Regions from separate parts of the Homo sapiens genome. Here region 2 is linked to region 1. Evidence: promoter capture Hi-C in 16 types of primary human blood cells and fetal thymus (Javierre and others, 2016). All regions are on one chromosome and are shown on one strand. Each heading gives the region's core, a stretch centred on a gene start or on the middle of the fragment in contact. The rest is flanking DNA. Distances are from core to core; before and after follow the strand shown. Region 1 holds the start of BIN1 (bridging integrator 1). Region 2 has its middle 33 kb from the start of BIN1.

What was found. Contacts are between HindIII fragments. The CHiCAGO score rates a contact against its expected background, and 5 or more counts as called.
Region 2: a contact is called between a fragment that was not itself captured here and the fragment with the promoter of BIN1 in region 1, in 1 of 17 cell types (endothelial precursors). The highest score is 6.6, in endothelial precursors.

Annotation. Positions count from the first base shown.
Region 1 is chr2:127,105,704-127,108,803 of GRCh38, forward strand. BIN1 (bridging integrator 1) reads right to left here and starts at 1,451. Exons shown (of 19, transcript NM_139343.3): 1 at 1,157-1,451. The coding sequence starts at 1,240. LOC105373605 (a long non-coding RNA gene) reads left to right here and starts at 1,442. Exons shown (of 4, transcript XR_923311.4): 1 at 1,442-2,112. RefSeq lists silencers at 1,299-1,508, 1,390-1,684, 1,519-1,578. The HindIII fragment of the contact is 12,156 bases long and covers 1-3,100 here.
Region 2 is chr2:127,138,838-127,141,937 of GRCh38, forward strand. No RefSeq gene overlaps it. Among named protein-coding and RNA genes, the nearest start is that of BIN1, 33 kb to the left of the region's middle. The HindIII fragment of the contact is 1,511 bases long and covers 743-2,253 here.

The sequences.
Region 1 (3,100 bases), core at 201-2,700:
GCCCGCGGGTCTCAGAAGCAAAAGTCATTGTTTATAAACAGCCACCAGGCCTGGCAGGGGAAGGCCGGCCTGTCCCTGCGCCTCCACCCGGCGGCCGCGCAGCGGGTGGGAGAGGGGGCAGGCCTGGCCGCGGGGCACTGGGGGGCCACCCTGGCAGAAACACAGATTCTGCAATCTCAGATTTCAGAGTTGGAGTCGTCAGGGGAAGTGGCGTCAGCAGCTGGCGTGATCCAATTCAATAAACCAGAGGTGGCTTGGGATAGACAACTGACCGGGTGCAGACCCCCGCCCCTCAATCTCTGCATTTCCTGCACGCTCTGGGCACCCTGGGAGGCCCCGGCTCCATCCCCCATTCCAGCTCTCCGCGAGGAGGGGTCGGGTTTCCTGTGGCGCCTTCCACGCGCCTCCTCCAGGCCAGCTCCCCACCCGGCCGTGGGCTCCCAAAGCCAGTGCCGCCACCCGCTCCCCGGCCGCCGGAAACGCTAAGCCCCTGCTGGGGCGAGGGCACCTCCTTGCGGGGTGCGTAGCCCTGGGCTCCCGGTGGGGCCGGGCTGGGCGGGAGCTTCCAGGCCGCAGGCACCTCTCGGGAAAGGAAACCCAATCCCTCCTTCGGCCCACGGAGAACGAAAGTGGAGAAGCAGTGGGAAGGAAGGAACTGTGGGTGCCGGTTCGAGAAGCAGCCTTGGGAGTCCGGGGGAATAGTGTCCCCAGGGGCAGAGGGACATACTCCCTCTCGCCCCGAGCGCCGGCCCAGCCTAGGTTGCCTGCATGGGCCTGGAGAGCTGAGGGTCACCACCTGGCCTCCCAGCCTCCCGGCCCTTGGCCTCCAAAGCGGGGTAGCCTGGAGCGCGCGCCTGAGAAGAGCCTGGAGCAGGGCCGGCCACTGCTGTGCAGCCGAGCCACGAAGGTGCAAAGCGGGGCCCTGTCCTGCCCCGGCCGGGTGTGGGGAGACAGAGGACGCAAACCTAAGAGGGCACCCAGAGCGCCGGGGAACGCAGCCTGGGGACCTCGAAGCCCCTCGAAAGCGCTCCTCTAGAGGTGACAGCACCAGATCCTGGCGAAGGACCAGGCCCCGGGGTCGGAGGATAGGGGGACAGGTGGCCGGGGCTCCGCGGCGGCTGGGACTCCGCGGCTGCTGGGGCTCCGGCTCGCTCACCTTCTCCTGCGCGCGGGTGAGCTTCTTCTGCACGTTGCTGGCGATCTTTCCCGCCGTCACCCCTTTACTGCCCATCTCTGCCATCGCGGCGCAGGCCTCGCCCGGTGGCAGGGGCCGCTCTCGCGCGGGGAGATCTTGCGCGCCGCGCTCCCAGCCCCCAGCCCCGGCCGCGCGTCCAGACCGGCTGCCGCTCCACGCCGCGCACCCGACAGCGGAGCCAACTGACGGAGGCGGAGCGTGCGCCGGACGGGCGAGCGAGCCAGCGAGCTAGCCAGCGAGCGACGCGGGGACAGAGGGAGGGAGAGGGGAGGGGCCGGGCCTCAGGCCGCGGTCGGCGCCCCCCGCCCGCCCCCTCCGGACAATAAGCTGCCTTTTAAAGGGCCACTCCGGGCGCCGGCACCGCCAGGTCCGCGAGGAGGGAGGGGCGCGCGCGGCGCTGGGGCTGCGGCGAGCGGGACTCCCCTGACGCTCCAGCTGCACCGCCCCGGGGCGGGGACTAATCCGCCGGCCTGGCGTCTTGGTCTTCCCCGCAAGCAGTAATCTCCTGCAACCCAGGAAAGGAGACTAGGTGGAGGAGAGGAGTGCTTTCGAAATCAAAGAGAAAGTGCGGCGAAGGGGGCGCGGCCCTGAACAGAGGAGCCGCGGCTGCTGGGAGAACGCGCCCGGAGCCCCCTCCTTTTCCAGGGGCTCACCTCCCGCCCGGTGCCCGGTGCCCGGTGCCCGACGCTCCGCCTCCTCCCAGCCTTCGGCCCTCGGGTTTTCGCCCGGATACCCTAGGCGCCTCCGGGACATCTCCACATCTTTGCCTACGGCGCCTAGCCCAGTACCAACCGGTGCTTGGTCTTCCCGTTCGCTAAAAATTTATTATAATAACAACAACCTAGCATTACTGAGTGCTTACTGTGTACTAAGTGACTTGACAGGCATTATTTCATTCGGTCTCCGTGGCCCTAGAGGTAGGTGCTATTACTGTTCCTACTTTACAACCAACGCGCCGGGATCGAGGAACGAGATCTCTGCCTCTGTCTCCCAGGTGCTCCACCACCATACGCCGGGTTGTCTCCTACCCCCAGCAGGAAGGAATGATTAGTGATCATTATTCCTGGAGAAGATAAGGTTATTGCTAACCAGCTTTGCCAATAGACCAATGACACTTCTTTTAAGTTAATAAATACGTATTGAGTCTGCTGATACCCACCCCCATTCAGCCCTAAAACATGTCAGGGGCTACAGCACTTTGCTGCCCCTGGAAATTTCTAAAGAACTGTTGATTGAGTTGAGCAGAGAGATAGGTCCCGCTGAAGAGGCCTAGACGTGTCTGGTGCACACACAGGAGCCAGGGCTATGGCCTGCAGGACCCGCAGCGGTCAGAGGAGCAGAGCTGGCCAGGGACAGAGGTCCCTGAGAGGCTTCCTGGAGGAACAGGAAGGGCTCTTGCAGACCACAAACCAAGCAGTTTGTACAAATGGAGAAATCGAGTCCCAGGAATGAGAGGTTCAGCCTGGGTTCACACAGGCCATTCCCTCTTCCCTGGAAGGCCCTCCTGCTCTTTCTCCGGCTACTCGGGGTTCTTCCACCACCGCTCAGTGCTGCCCCATGGCCCAGTGTGTTCGTCTGTCCTCTTCCGGGCCTATTATCATGATGTCCCTCGGTATCCCCCAGGGGACTGGTTCCAGCACATCCGTGGATACCAAAATCCAGGGATGCTCAAGTCCCTCATATGAATTGACACAGTATCTGCATATAGCGTACACAAATCCTCCAAAATACTTTAAATTATCTCTAGATTCTTGTAATAGCTAATACAATTTAAATACTATGTAAATAGTTGTTAACGCTGTATTTTTTATTTATTTATTTATTTATTTTTAGACAGAGTCTCACTCTGTCGCCAGTCTGGGGTGCAGTGGCGCAATCTGGGCTCACTGCAACCTCTGCCTCCCG
Region 2 (3,100 bases), core at 248-2,747, 33 kb after region 1:
TTAGCTTGTTGCTATTGTAACCTAGCCAGCATGCTAAATTCCTTCATTAATTTTAATCATTTGCCAAATAATGTTCTTGGGTATCCAAGTAGAAGGTTGTACCATCTGCTAATAAAACAATTTTCTTCCTTTCCAGTACCTATGCATTTTATCTCCATTTTGGGTCAAAGAAATATCTATTTTAAGAGGTACCAATGGGCATAGAGTAGAAGAACAGTCTCTTCTTCTCATCCCCCAATCACCCAGATTCTTTCCCTGGGAGTAGACACTGTGACCAGTTTCCTGTGAGCCCATCTGAAACCAAAAAAGAGCCCACATAGCTAAGACAATCCTAAGGAAAAAGAACAAAGCTGGAGGCATTACGCTACCTGACTTCAAACTATACTACAAGGCTATAGTAAACAAAACAGCATGGTGTGCTTTTCTCCCAATACTTTGATGTTAGGTTGTTAGATGAATAAAAGTTCATAATTGTTACATCATTATGAAATATTTTCTTTTTTCCTTTTGTTTTGCCTTGAATTCCATTTTTATGACATTATTAAACTTGTTACCTTTTTTGTTAGCATATATTTGATGTACCTTTTTTCCATCCTTTCGTTTTCAATTTTTCTGTCATTATTTCTTTGTATCTCAGAAATAGCATGTAGCTGCATTTTAGGGATTTCTTTTCCTCCTGATTTGTTGTTTTTCATGAGACAATTCAAACCATTCCCATTTATTGTGATTACTGACATGTCAAAGCTTGTTTCTGCCATATTGTTTTATATTTATTAATATATGTACCATGCTTTCTACTTTTCCCCACGGTTTTCCTTTTTTATCAATTGACCAGCTCTTCTTCATTTAATTTCTGATTAAGTGCTTACCTTTAAATTTTAACTCCAACATCTGTCCATTATTTTATTTTCCCTTATAGCCTGTGTAAGTGTAGTGCCCCTTGTCATTATGCTCGGCAAAGCACAAACCTTAGCCCACTTGGACTTCCTTCCTCTCCTTCTCCTCCCCACCTGCAATGTTAATACCACTTGAGCTTTTAGTTCCAGTTCCATTTAGACTTAGCAGCAAATTCTAATTCCTTTACTCACCACTGCTTCTTGAATCTGTAGCTTTCTCTTGGATTTATTTTCATTGTGTTGAAGTACCTCCTCCTACAGGTAGGATGGAAGGTGACTCATTTTCTCATCTGTGGATGTCTGAAATTGTCTTTACATATTTTACCTTCACACTTGAATGATGGCTTTAGCCGATTCAAACATGTGTCCCTTAGATCTCTAAAAATATTTCCCCTGGGTCTCTGAAGATCTTCCAACATGCAGTGTTGTAGCTAAATCTAATATTAGTCTGCTTTCTCTTAGGAGTAATCTGTTTTCCTTTTCTCCATCCTTCATGTTCTAAGTTTCAGCCCAGCCAGTCTATCATTTTCTGTTCTGCTTGTCATGAAGTGGGCCCCTTCAGGATGAGGACTTTTGTCTTTTGTAGACTTGAGAAATTTCCTTCTCTATTAATCTTAGCGTTCCCCACATCCAACCTCTCTAGTCCCTCTTTCTGGAGCTCCTATTTAAAAGGTATTAACATTTCTGAATCTAGTCTTCATATATCCTCACTTTTATTTTATGCTTTCTATCTCTTCTTTTTGCGGGGCATTCTAGATGAAGTCCTCAATTTGATTTTCCAGTTCACTAATATGCTATTATTGACCTACATCCAGTCTGATCATACTCCAAAAGCCCCTTTTTGAATATACCTTTGAGCGTCTTCTTTTTTATTTCTAAGGCCTCACACCGTTTCCTCTCACAGCTTTCTGAGATTAACTGTGCTTCGTCCGTGTGCTCTGCTTGCTGTTTATCTGGGTATCAGTCTGTTTCCTGTGCTCTGCGTCCCAGTCATGGCAGTGCTTTCCTCAGTGTTCAGCGGCTCTGGTGTGTGCTCGTCTTGTGTTTGAGGTTCTTTGTTACCCAGTCTATGGGTGATGCCTCCAGCCACGGTGTGGGAGAGATGACCGTGGGTGGAAAACAAGCTGGTGGACGTGGTGTGCCTGCATCCGAGGTCCGTTTGTCCAGAGTGTCACCTTGCCTCCCTAGGCTGGGCGTTCACACTGGCAGGAGGGAGACAGAGATCCCTGCTGCCTGCTATTTGGCTAAGTGGGAAAGGTGTGGTGGGAGGAGTAGATAGCTGGCTGGCTTTGTGGTTCCTACTGCAACATCCTAACCCACGACCTACCAGTCACCACCACCCCATTCACCATCTTCAAGCTTAAATTCCCTTCAAAACTGCCTATGACAGCAGGTCTCCCTATACGTATTTTGGGCAGTGGTTTCTTCCTTTCAACCCCACCAATTTCCTTCTTTCAATAATTCCTCGCAACTTTAAATCCACCGAGGCCCCTTCTCGTCTCCTAGAACATTTTTGGATGACATGTATTTATTTTTTCTGGTATTTCTAAGGGTTTGGGACAGGAAAAAGTGGTTGGGGTTCAGTCTGCCATTTTTAGCTAATTTCTAAATAGATTTTTCAAGTGCTCAGAGCAACCCTATGAGCTAGGTATTAGTAATAACTCTCAATTTACAAATGAGGAGACAAGCTTAGAGAAAAAAATACAAAATTTTCTCAAGATTTCACTGCCGGCAAAGAGCAGCACTACGTCCCTAACTCAACTCTGTTCAACACTAAGCCCACTGCCGTCCCATGCGGGTAAGTCGAATGCAAAGCTCTGCCCCGTGATTTTTCCAAAGCATCCAGAAAAAGCCTTACAACCTCCCGGGCTTCTGCTTCTGGAACACACTGGAGGACCACTGCAGCAGGCCATGTCTCCAAAACTCTCCCAATGATCACAGCCGCTAATTCCATTCACTCATGCACACACTCGTTAATGTAGTATACACAGAGCATAGCCTGTGCTACAGACACTGCCAGAACAAAACAGACATGGTCCCAGCTCTCGCGGAACTTCCTGTCTGCTAACAACCCCTCGTGTTACAGATGAAGACTCGAAAACCAGAAAGGAAAGGACTTGCCCAGGATCACACAGTCAGTTAGAGGCAGAGTTGCTGTCAGAATGCAGTCTCCTTACTCCCAGCCCAGTACCCCCCTTATCTTT